Linked DNA regions of Homo sapiens: region 1 is linked to region 2. The links are contacts of gene promoters, found by promoter capture Hi-C in human tissues and cell types (Jung and others, 2019). All regions are on one chromosome and are shown on one strand. The core of a region is centred on a gene start or on the middle of the fragment in contact, and the rest is flanking DNA. Distances in the headings are between cores, read along the strand shown. Region 1 has its middle 54 kb from the start of GPR139. Region 2 holds the start of GPR139 (G protein-coupled receptor 139).

Region 1 (6,757 bases), core at 2,486-4,985, 54 kb before region 2:
TGTGGGCCCAGGGTTGCCAAGTCCTTTGATTTTTCAAGTGAAGCTGTGAAAATGTCAGTGGAATTTCCCAATTTAAAAGACTCCATGTGAGCTGAAGAGAACAGGTTTGAAGATCCACAGGTTTCCAATTGTTGGCATCTAAGATAAATGATCTGAAGTAATAGTGCTTTGTGGTAACAGAGTGAGAGGCCTGCCACATGTTTCTTCAGGCTGCATGACGACAGACACAGCGGTTCATGCCTGTAGTCCCAGCACTTTGGATGGCCGAGGTGGGAGAATAGCTTGAACCCAGGAGTACAAGACCATGTGAACTTGAAGGCACTTTCAAGTAGGTACTTAAGCACCTTTCCCCAAAACAGGAAATAAAGCAAACCAGCCAAAAGATCTCTTTGGCAGAAATGAGTGGCTACCAATCTTGAGAGCTAGAAGGAAAAGTAAATGGAATGACGTGAAACATTTGTTAACCTCCACATCATGTGCCATGAATTTTTTATGTATTATTGCACCAATTCTCACTGACAACTACCTGGGATAGGATAATTACCTTCCTATCACAGGTGAGTAAACTACATTAGGTCCCCTGCTGGATCATACAGGTAGAAGGTAGTATAATATGGTTTGGCTGTGTCCCCACCCAAATTTCATCTTGAATTGTGGCTCCCATAATCCCCACATGTTGTGGGAGGGACCTGGTAGGACCTAATTAAATCATGGAGGGGTTTCCCCCCATACTGTTCTTGTGGTAGTGAATAAGTCTCACAAGATCTGTTGGTTTTATAAGGGGTTTCCCCTTTCACTTGGCTCTCATTCTCTTGTCTGCTGCCATGTAAGACATGCCTTTCACCTTCCATCATGATTTTGAGGCCTCCCCAGCCAGGTGGAACTGTGAGTCCATTAAACCTTTTTTCTTTATAAATTACCCAGTCTCGGGTATGTCTTTATCAGCAGCATGAAAACAGACTAATACGTAGTAGATCCCAGGTCAGCAGGACCCTGGAACCCCCACGCCCAACACACACAAATTCCCTCCACCAGACGAGGCCCTTGGGAGTTACTGATGCTGCATAATTAATGTTGTGGCTCGAAAGGAATCAACCATGTCTGATATCACTGTAGTGATGAGTAAATGGCAGAATGTGAGCCATGGAGCTTTAAGTGGGCCTAAGGTTGACCATCTTCTACTTTGGGCATCTCCTGGCTGGTGGTCATTATACTAGAAGAACCTCCCAACGATAGTAATAAACCAAATGTTTAGTAATCATGATATCACTTATACAATGCTCACTATGTGTCAGCTCTTGCATGTATATTTTTATTTACTTAATCCTTAAAATAGTTCATTTTACAGATGAGAAAACTGAGGTGTAGAGAGGTTAAATTATTAATACTTGCCTGAGATAACACATTAACAAATGGCAGAGTTAGGGTCATAACCCAAGGCTGTTTGGCTCAAAGTTTGTTCTCTTAAACCCTAGGCTACCTGCTTATAACTTTTTTTTCTATTTGCCACACTGGTTAATGAAATTTGATGGGCTGCGTCCATCAATACAGGGCTATCTCCCAGGACAAGAAGGCAAGCTCTGCCTCTCAAGGGGCCTGACCTTGGTGGGTGCTTCCCTATCCAGTCTCACAAACACAAGGACTCAGGATCCTAGTGTCAGTGGCATTTAGAGAGTATGACAAATGCCAGCAAAACTCACAAGAGACAAATGTATATACCACAATAAATACATAATGTTCATCTACAAGGATTATGCCAAGAGGACCAGAATGCCTCTGATGGCATGAACACCACGCTTATTCTTTGTCTGAAGCCAAATTGCAATCATTTATTCATTAAACAAATATTGATGGAACATTTGCACTGGAGTGAACAAAAGCAGACATAGCAGGATGGTGGTTTGGTAAGGAGTTTAAGAACAGCCTGTGCAACATAGTGAGAGAAGAAAAAGAAAGGAAGGGAAGGAAAGGGAAGGGAAAGGAAGGGAAGGGAAGGAAGAAGGAAAGGGAAGGGAAGGAGGAAGGAAAGGAAAGGGAAAGGAAGGGGGAAGGAAATGGAAGAGAAGGGAAGGGGGGATGGGGAGGGAAGAAGGGAGGAAGAGAGGAAGGAAAGAAGGAAGGAGGGAAGGAAAGAAGGAAGGAAGGAAGGAGAAGGAGAAAAGGAAGGAAGGAAGGAGACAAAGGAAGAAACCATGGAGTAGAATACTCTCTCTCTCTCTTTTCCATTGTCTGTCACATCAGCTTCACCCTATACATCTGCTTCATTCTTTTCTTCAATCAATCGGAATCCTTAGCTGCACAGAAACTAACTATGACTGATTTTAACAGAAAATGAATTTTTGAAAGGATATCAGAAGCCTCGGAATCTCTAGGAAGCTCAGGGAACAAGATAAAAACAAGCAGCAACAAGGAAAAGCTAGACAGCCAGAACTGCAGCCAAAATCCCACTACAGACCAAGCCTAGTGAGGATACCACTGCTGCTGCCTCTAAGAACCAAACATCCCAGCTTGCACCCGCTCCACTGCTGGCACCAGGCACAGAGTCCTGCTGAGGCACTGCTGCTGGAATACAATCTCCACTATGCCTGCATCGTGTTTATAAGCTTTTGTTATTGATATTTTCATATATACACACACACAATAGCACAGTATAATGCCAACTTAAATAATTCTCAGCTCACAGTCAATCTTGTTTCATTTGTCTCCCTACCCACTTGTCCCCACCCTCATAATATTTCGAAGCAAATACCACTTATCCTATAATTTTATCCAAAACAATTTCAACATGTATGTCTAGAATGGCGTTTCTCAATCTTGGCACTGCTGACATCTTGGACCAGATAATTCTTTGCTGTCGGGGGCTGTCTTGTGCATTGTAGGATGTTAAGCAGCATTCCTGGTCTCTACCCACCAGATGCCAGTATCACCCTCTTCACTCTCAGTTGTGACAACCAAAACTACATCTAGACGTTGACAAATATCTCCTAGGGAGAAATATTGTCCCTGATTAAGAACTTTGGGAGGCCGAGGTGGGACGATTGCTTGAGTCCAGGAGTTTGAGAGCAGCCTGGGCAACATGGTGAAACCCTTTCTCTACAAAAAATTAGCTGGGTGTGGTGGCATGCCAGCAGTCCCAGCTACCAGGAAGGCTGAGATGGGAGGATCCCCTGAGCCCAGGAGGTTGAGGCTTCAGTGAGCCATGGCCATGATCGCACCACTGCACTCCAGCCTGGGGGACAGAGTGAGACCCTGCCTCAACAAACAAAAAAGATACGTGTATTATCATAAAAACATATAGACAGCTAGATGATAGATAATCACAAAACTATCATCACACTTTAAAAATTAAAAATAATTCCTCAAAACTATGAAATGCTGAGTTGGTGTTGAAATTTACCTGATTATCTTGAGGTATTTCTCTCATATTTATTGTTAGATTCTAGATGAAAATAAGAACCATACCTTGCCATTGGTTGGTATGTCTCATGTCTCTTTTAATAGGAAGGAAGGAAGGAAGGAGAATATTCTGTGTGTGTGTGCGTGTGTGTGTGTGTGTGTGTGTTACCAGGGGCCAGAGAGAGGGGAAGGAAATGGAGAGATGTAGATCAAAGGATACAAAGTAAGAGGTATGTAGAATGAACAAGTCTGGAGATGTAATGTATAGCACGAGAGCCGTCCTTAATAACATCGGGTTGTACTTGTGATTTTTTGCTCAAAGAGTAGATACTATGTGAGATGATGGATGTGTTCATTTGTTTGACTATAGTAACATTTTCACTACCTATATGTATATGAAAACAACATGTTATACACCTTAAATACATACAAAACAATTTAAAAAAATAAAGTGGAAAAAAGAAATCAGTTCCTGTAGAGTTCACCCACAGTCTGAATTACTGATTCTATCTCCATGATTGAATTGAACATACTCCTGTTTCTCCCGTGTTTCCTAGAAGTAAGTAGTTAGATCTAGAGGTTTGATTTCATTCTGGTTCTTTGTTAACTGCTTCATGATTAGGGAGCACACTTCCATCAAGAAGCCACGATGTCTGTTTGCCTCTTTTGTTTGGATATCAGTTGGCAATCACTTTCTAAATCCTTTATTTCATTAGGTATTAAAAATGATGAAATTCTTTCAATCCTTCCTCATTTATTAGCTAGAATACTTACAAAGATAAACATGCCCTTCAATTGTTTGGCCTCCCTGACAAACTGTATAGGGAAAAGTAGAATGCATGCTTGATTCTCTCCCTTTCCTTATCAGTTTTCAAAATAATGCAATGGTATGCTAGCATCTTCCAAGAGGGACCTGTGAGTTTTGTTGTTGTTGATGGTGGTGGTGGTATCCTCATGAACTCCTGCATTTCAACACATTAGAAGTGTTTTCAGTCTCCTGCAGTTATGTCCCTACTGATACTCAACTTGTTCCATTGTTGACTGGTGGAATCCCTTTTAAGATGGTTCATGTGTTCTTCTGATGAACCCCATTGGTCTTGGGTAACTTCTTGGCTTTCTGACATAACAAACATCTGCCAGGCTCATTTCCAGGTATATATTTCCTATCCTGGACTGGAACTGTATCTATAAACTTTATACAATTAATCAGGGAAGAAGGAGGGGGAGAAATAAAAATAAACCAGGTCTGCAGCACATTCAGCATTAATCATGAAGCCACCTTGCTCTGTGACCTGCTTCCTCGTAGTTTTTTGGTGCCTATTCCTTCAGAATCACATAGACTCTGTCACAAGAGTATAGCTCCCCTTAACTTCTCTGTAGATAACAACTTAATCATTGTGAAATATTAAGTTTTCTATTTGAGATATTCTTTCAGGTTCTGCACACCAGTGAAACTGCTGACACCAGCTGGTCTGAAGGACTCCATGAGAAGCTGACTCACAAAAGAATGCAGTTCTTACATCCCAACAATTTCATCCCCTATACCCTGACAAATAACCCCAATTTTCCAGCTATTTACCTTCCATGATCTCCTAAAAAATCCCAGCCCAGATCTGCCCAAGGAGGCAGATTTGAGTGTCCCTCCTGTCTCCTCTCTCAACTGCCCTGCAATTGTTAATTTTTTTCTCTTCTGCAAACCCTGCTGTCTCAGTGTATTGGTTGTTGCACAGCAGGCCCACAAACCTGGTGGACCTATAACAAGACCAGGTACCAGACTTTTCTCTAAAGATCCCCAGTTCCTTCTAGTGTGGTCCAGCTACTTTGCAACTCTGACCAAGCCTGCACCACTTGCCCCTGCGTTAGCATCCCAAGAGCTAAAAAACAAGAATGTGGCCTTTTGGGTTTCTGTGATCTGAAGTAGCTTTGCTTCCACCAAGATGACAGAAAGGGAAATTCCCCAAACAGGAAGAGGAGGGTGGGACAATGGATGACCCACCACACCACCACCACCACCAAATGACTGATGTTTTCTGTATCTCTCTCTTTCTAAAACAGACTTTCTCAGTGCACATGGCCAAACGTGGCTGTCCCACAGCTCCTGAATTTACACATCCTCGCAGCTCCAGTGCCAATGGAAGCCAAGTCCCAGTTATAAATCCCCAGGAGATATGGTCTAGTTGTTCCAATCTGGATCAAGTGTAATCAGCTTTACCCTAAGGGCAGGATCACACAAACCTGCCACAGGGGCTCCCCATCAAAAATAGAAAATAACAGGTCTCAAAGAAAGGGAGACCTGCCTGAACTCACACCCCAAAAGACATCCTCTGCCCACAGCTAGAGTTGAGGACTGGATGATTCAAACCTTGAAGGCTTCACACACTAGGAAATTAATAGGCTCCTTTCTACAGTTCCCAATGTATGAAACTCCCAGCATCCCACCCTAAGCCCTCTACAATCATACCTGGCCTCTTGTCTCAGTGACATCAGTGACTGACCCCTCTTTCTTCAGCTAACAACCATGGCTCACATTTTCCAGAGCCCTCATGTGTGCCAGTCACTCTGTTATCCATTAGATCACATGCCTCGTTTCTCTGAATCTTTGAAGCCTCCTTGTGGTAGGCACTATTGTCAGCATCCTCATTTTTTTTGGTGGAGAAACTAAGACTTGGAGACATTAATATGCCCAGATTTCATCATCCTACTTGGTAAGAGATAGAACCAGGATTTGAAGCAAGGCAGTCTGAATCAAGAGCCTCTGTTCTTCAACTTGACACCATCTTTTTGAGTCACCAGCATTTGGGAGCACTCAAGTCTTGCCCTGCCCTATCACCATGGTGTCTCATGAAGGTAACGCCCAATTTTTCTAATTTCATCTAAGTGTCTTCCTTCTGCAGTTATTTCCCAGGGAGCCACCTGCTTTTAAAGTTGGTACCCATGCACCAGACACAAAATAGAATTCTGAAGCCACACTGTCTGTTGTTGTCCCCATGAAAGGGAGCCTAATTATCATAACCAAAAAAAGAAAGCTTCGTTGTAAAACTTGCACCCATTAGTGTAGAGAATGTGGGTTTGTATGGACTATCCAGAAAATACAAACTCATTTGATCCTGCAGAAATATTTGTTAAGCACTGTTTTAGGTACAGGGATAGAGCAGCTAACAGAACAGATAAACGTGCCTGCTTTCACGAAGCTTACCTTTTAATGCTGAGTTGGGGGAGGGCAGGAAGACAAGCAATAAGTGAGAAAAGTAAGTAAAGTACATGGTATGTGAGATTAGTGGTAAGTGCTAAGGAGAAAATAATAAAGGTCAGAAGGTAATCATGAAGTGTTGAAGGCAGAGAACGATTAAAATTTTAGATT
Region 2 (6,183 bases), core at 307-2,806:
CCCTTTTGTGGGGCCACGTGCCTCCTTGCTTACCACAGACCCAGCTAGATCCAGTAGATGCCCCCCTTATGCAGACTGCCTGACTCTGTATGCTTTGGAGATTTCCACTCTGCCCTAGAGTGTCCCCCATCCCTGCCTGGGGTAACCTCTAACAAAGACAAGAACTGGATACATGCTCTTTGCTGGTCTTGAGGGACAGGGGTCTGCTCCACGTTGGGAGACCTGGAAGAGGCTGGGGAAAGCTTAGCCAGTTCCTTCTCTCCAGGAATGGATGTGATATAGGGGTGAGGGGCGTTGGGAAGCAGCGGGAGTGGGGGGTTTGAGGGCGGGGGGTCTTAGGCTTCTCAGACCCATCACAGCTCTTTGCATAGGCAGCTGCTACAGTCTGCTCCTGGGGATGCCTGGCCTGGGTGTTCCTGCAGAATCTTTAACTCTCTCACACTCACTGTCTTGAGCCCCAGACAGACACTATGTCCCTCTCTCTCTCTCTCTCTCTCTCCTCTCTCTCCTCTCTCTCTCTCTCTCTCTCTTTCTCTCCTCTCTTTCTCCTCAAGTCTGTGGTGGCCACACCCGGAACCCTCCACCTGCCTGCCCTGAGGAGAAAGGACCACCCACCCACACATTGCTTGGATCCCACCTGCCTTACAAATGCTACCCTTCACACAACCTTCAAGCACTCTCGACAAGCCCCCATGACTCCCGCGTGCGTTTTCGTATGTTTGGAGCGCCCTGTGAGTGTGGTCTTGTGCATGGTGATGAGGATGCCTGCGTGTTTTCAAGGGTCTGGGTGTGGGATGGGAGAGCATCCGCGTGCCTGAGTGAGCGTGTGAGTACACCGCATGCCTGGGTATTGTGTGTCTTTGTGTGAGCGTGGGCGAGTGCGTGTTTGAGTGTCTGCAACATCCTTATTCCTGACTGAAGGGCGGCATGCAGGAGGGGCTTCTCTTAGCCAGTCTGTATCCTCTTCAAACGCACTCCAGTTAGGGGACAGTTCACCGGCGGCCACCCCCAGAGTCGCCACACACACGCACAGGGAGGCACGCACCCCTCTTTCCAGAGCCAGCAAGCTCAGCTTCCCTTGTCGAGGAAAACCGACAACGCTTTAGCATCCTCGCTGCTCCAACAGCCCCACCCCTTCCCCCGTTCTTTGCCCTAGGTATAGAATCCTCTATCCGGAGATGGACTGGAAGCATTGGAGAGGGGCAAGAGAGGTGGCTGCGAGGAGAGTGGAGAAAGGCAAACTGAGGACACGCTGGAGGAGTGAGGAGCCGCTGCGGGAGAGGCAGATCCTACCCACACCACGCCCCTCCCTCGGGGTTGGAGATTGGGGATAGCCTGTTTTCCACTCCGGTCTTCCTTCGGGGCTCCCAGGTCTAACTGCATCTTCTCCCCTGAAAGTGGAGCCAAGCGAGGCGGCTGGGACCCCCTCCTCTTCCGCATCCCTCCCACCCCACACACACTCCGCTTCCAGGCAGCCGCTGATTGGCTGCGGGGAGCGGCGTCCCAGCCCCCCGGCTTTGAGGCGGGAGTGGAGCGGGTCCGAGGTGGGAGGCGCACAGACGGGCTCCGGGAGCCCCTCCCGAGGCCCCGCGCAGCGCGCCCCGCACCCTGCGCCCCGCGCCCTGCGGGAGGGCTGAGCCAAGACTCCAGGCGGGCAGGTGCGGAGCGAGCAGAGGGGATCACGGCCAAGGGTAGGAGCCAGTCCTGCGGGGAGAGAGGCGCTGCTGCTCCAGCTGCCGCTGCCTCCGCCGCCGCCACCACCGAGCCGGCGACCAGAGTCGGGCTGGCAGGCCGGGCGCGAAGCGGCAAGGGGAGCGAGGGGCGCGCTCATGGAGCACACGCACGCCCACCTCGCAGCCAACAGCTCGCTGTCTTGGTGGTCCCCCGGCTCGGCCTGCGGCTTGGGTTTCGTGCCCGTGGTCTACTACAGCCTCTTGCTGTGCCTCGGTTTACCAGGTGAGGGGCGTGGGGGAGAGGGAGGGAAGCCAGGAACCCCAAGTGCCGGGCAACCCTACCCAGAATCCCCCGTCCTCCCCCGTGCGTTCCCTGGCGCCCCCTCGGAAAAAGTTTAAGCTTTAAGGGCAACTATGGATATTTCCACACGGGGGGAAAGGAAGTTGCTGTGCCCTAGCTGGGGACCGTGTGTGTGTGTGTGCGCGCGCGAGCGTGTGTGTGTGTGTGTGTGTGTGTGTGATGACTGTGACGGCGGGCGATGGGCTGGGCATGTGAGCATGGATTCGAAGGTGCATTTGTGCGCGCATCTGGAGGGGGCGGCTTTCATGGGGTGGGGGCGTAGAGGGCTTTGTGTGTGTTTGGCTTGACTGCATGTTCTGGACAGAAGGCTTCGTGGAGGCTTCCCTTCTCCCGTGGCCCCTGCACGTCCACCCCACTTGGGGCACCTCTGCCCCTCTGCGTGTCCCCGCCTGACACGAGATGAAGCTGGAGACCCTGACATTGAGCACTCTCTTGCTCGGGGGGCACTGGAATGGAGAAAGAATGCCTAGCAAGAAAAGGGTCTCCCAGCTGGCTAAGGAGAATCAGGGGTTGGCTCTGGGACCATGCCCTGGCCAGGGCAAGGGTGCAGAGACACACAGGGCAGCCTGCGGTGGCTGCCACCTCAGGGGGTCACAGTCTCCTTGAGGACATGCCTGGCCCCCTGGCTTGGCCTCCAGGTCTACCCACCCTGGGCAGCTCACGGCTGCTGTGGATGTCTGGCTGGTCCCACATCTTAATGTCCTTTCCAAAGTGTGGCTGAGACTTGTCCTGAATTCCTGAAGAGAGCTGAGCTGCCGAGAAGGAGGGAGTGCTTGCCTGGGCCGTGTGCGAGAGAGAGCGAGAGAGAGAGAAAGCTTTTTTCCTGGGGCTCCAGCTTTGGGTGGACCCTCCTTGCAGGCAGTCTTGGTGACAAATAGATCCCTAAAGATTACTTGCATGCAGAGAGGAGAGAGGGACTGAAAGAAGCAGAGAGAAAGAGAGAAAAAAAATCCAGTGTACAGCCTGAAATCTTAGCATCATCTCCCTAGTCATCTCTTAGTCTGCGAACCTTAGCATCTTGCGATCCTGGGAACTTGGGAGCTGGATTTCTGAGAGCCTGGCTGAGATTTCCTTTCCCAAACATTCAACTTGGCAGTCAGGGCCCCTGATGAGATTGTTTCAATAAATCCCCCCTCCCAAATTTGGCAGGCATGAGAAAGCGCAAGTTTACTAATGTGTGAGCCTCTCTCCCCAAGCCAGTGATGAGGCTTTTATTCCTAACTAATCGCCACGGCTGCCCTAGGAGAGCAGCTCAGCCTCTGACTTGCCCTGCCGGGGTGGTAGCACATGTCCTGTAATTACCTTGAGCTGGGATTGATTTTAGTCCAGGTTCCACCTCCCCCCTTCAGCCCTTCGGAGCTTCTCTCCCCAGAGCACTGTTTTGGGAAATGAGTTTTTGAGAAGGTTGGTTATTTGATGATGCTTGCTGAACTGGAAAAGTGTAAGAACCTCTTTCCCCCTCAGCATTCCCATCAGAATGTCCCCCCAACAATCCACCCACCCTTGCACCTCCTCTACTGAGTGAGATAGCCACTCACTCACTCACTATCCCAGGCTTTTCTAATGAAACCATTTAAGGGACAGAGACAAAGACAAGCAGAGGTTGACCCTTCAAGAGTTCAAAGCAGGGACAAGAGGATGGAGAAAATGAGGAAAAACTTAGGCCTTTAAAGACCTCAAGGTGGAAGCCAAGGTACCTCGCACCTTCACATCCCAACTCCTATGCCAGCTAGGGCCTTCCTGACACACAGCATTGACATCTACTGTATGCCAGGCACTATGCTAGCCACAGGCTTAGCCCAGAGTTTGGGAACTTAAAAGGATGAAGCTAGGATTAGGATTTAGCTGTTGTTGATGTCTTCATACCCTCAACTAATAGTTTTGGCCACTATGGTATGCTAAGTATTAACTGGGTGTCAAAAGGACACAAAGTCCTAGGATGCAGTCTCTGAGTTCCAGGAGCTCCCAAATGCAAGCGCATGATTCCAAAGACAGCAGATGGATGCGTAAGGACCAAGCAACCTAAAGAAGAATGACTGGGGAGGCCAGGCTTATCCAAAAGTCTTGGTCTGCTAGCAGTTTTGTTAACAGCCCACAAGGCTGGTTCAAAGGTGAATTCTTTAAGTCATTCTCTTAAAACCATAAGGGGAGACAAGCATGTCCTGGCAATGAAGAGTGAATGTTAATCCAGATTCTGCTGGGGTGAGGTTGCAAGCTTTTCATGTCTCTGTGCCTCAGTTTCCACAGCAGTAAAATGGGAATTATGAGGGTAGCTATCCCCTGGAGTGGTGTTGAGAAGTAAGGATGTTGCTGCAGATGATGGCACTAGCGAAATGCTCGCCTTGGTGCCTGACATTCATTTATTGACACTGCACTGCTGTGGTCATAGATATCATGAAGCCGATCAAGTTGTAAGGAGGGCGGTCTGCTTGCTCAGCCCCACCAGTGACCAGAGGAGGGACTGAGATACACAGAAGAAAGCATTCAGGTCAGCATGTAACTCTGCGTGTTGAGCTCACCACAGTGGTCCCCACCCATCACCTCCCTTCCCCAGCCACCAGCAATTAGCAAACTCTCATTACTCCACCACTGACTGGGAGACGCAGCTTTGCTGGGTGTGGAGTAACAGACCACAGCTCTTGCTCATATTGTTGAAAACTGAGATTTTAATTGAATCACTATTCCTGGCAGTGGACTCACCCCAAGTTTCCCAAATTCTCGCAGTAGTTGTTGGAGACATGGGTGGGAACTGAGGGATGGATGGGGAGCGCCTGAATGTTTAGCAACAGCAGAGCTAGTATCACAGGAAAGTGGTGGATGTCTCTGACTACCTTCGGTCTCTAGGTTGGGAGGAAGAGCTAGGGGATTGCCCCAGACAGTCTAATTTTTAACTGGTTGGTGTAGGATCGAAGAAATTCTAATGTGAAATATGGGTACAGCTTTGCCACTTAAGAACTCTTCACCTCTCTTCATCATAATTTTCCCCATCTGCAAAATGGGGGCAACAGTAGTACCTCTTACCCACACAGGTGGTATATATGAAATAAGATCATCTATGTAAAAATGGCTTAGCACAGTGCCTTGTCCAAGAAAAGCACTTATTCCTCACTCAGTGCCTTCTCCACACTGGATCTCTGTCACCTATATTATTACACTTAATCCCTGCCACACCTCTGCGACCTATACCTGTCTTTGAACTCATTTTACAATGAACAAACTGAGACTCAGAAAAACGAAGCATCTTATCTACTGTCGCACAGTCAAGCCAGCATGCAAACATGCTGCCTTATTAAACAGTGCAATAAGGCAAACAGTGCAATTTTGTTGTATGGCTTCACCTTCATTAATGCCAGGCAGTTGTTTGAACTAACCTCTGTCCCTCCTTTCTGTGCTCTGTGGAGAAAATCGGTGTCCCACCTATTCCTAAAACTCCATCTCTTTCCCCCTTTCCTCCTCCTTTTTAAGTAAGAAAGACGTTTCTCACTTCTCGAGACACACAAAATAAGTCAGCAGAGCCAAAAAGCAAGGATTTGGGACACTCATTGGACCAACTGGAATGAGACAGTACAAAAGAGACAGCAATGCAGGAGAAAATGATGAACTTGAGCCCCTGGGGGAAGACAGTGAGAGGGAGGATGGGTGGGCCAGCTTGATAAGGAAGGAGCAGTGTGAAATTAAACTGAGATTTGAGAGATTTTAAAAAAAATTACCTTCTAAAGAGTGCCGGGGATGTGCAGAAAGACAAGGTGAGGAAAGAGATGATAGCTTGAAACTGCATGCCGCCCAGCAGAAGGGTGCATTTCCACCACTGCCAAGTGAGAATGATAACATCTGTAACATGTGCCTTTGAGAGTTGGTGCAAGATGAAGGCAGATGATGAGTCTGTAGCCTGGCAGATAGTAAATAAGCCTGACGCATGGTAGTTACCATTGTTGTCAACTAGAAGTAGAAAACTGGTGATCTGTCAGCTGGACTGAGGCCTGCAGATATGTTTTCTTTACCTTGTAAACATCTTTAATGAGAGAAAATGGAATAAACAGGTTAAAAGGACACACTCTGGAGCTGGACCTCTGGGGTCTGAGTCCTGGCTGTGCTGCTTACAAGTTATATGACCTTGGGCAAGTGACTTTAACTGGGAGTGATTATAAG

What was found. The method cuts DNA at HindIII sites, captures the fragments that hold promoters and counts their contacts. A contact is called where the count stands out against the background at its distance.
Region 1: a fragment that was not itself captured here is called in contact with the fragment with the promoter of GPR139 in region 2 in 2 of the 25 tissues and cell types used here (H1 embryonic stem cells and stomach).

Annotation. Positions count from the first base shown.
Region 1 is chr16:20,124,896-20,131,652 of GRCh38, reverse strand. No RefSeq gene overlaps it. Among named protein-coding and RNA genes, the nearest start is that of GPR139, 54 kb to the right of the region's middle. The HindIII fragment of the contact is 5,541 bases long and covers 965-6,505 here.
Region 2 is chr16:20,069,263-20,075,445 of GRCh38, reverse strand. It overlaps GPR139 (G protein-coupled receptor 139), which reads left to right and starts at 1,556. Exons shown (of 2, transcript NM_001002911.4): 1 at 1,556-1,956. The coding sequence starts at 1,830. The HindIII fragment of the contact is 2,569 bases long and covers 1-2,461 here.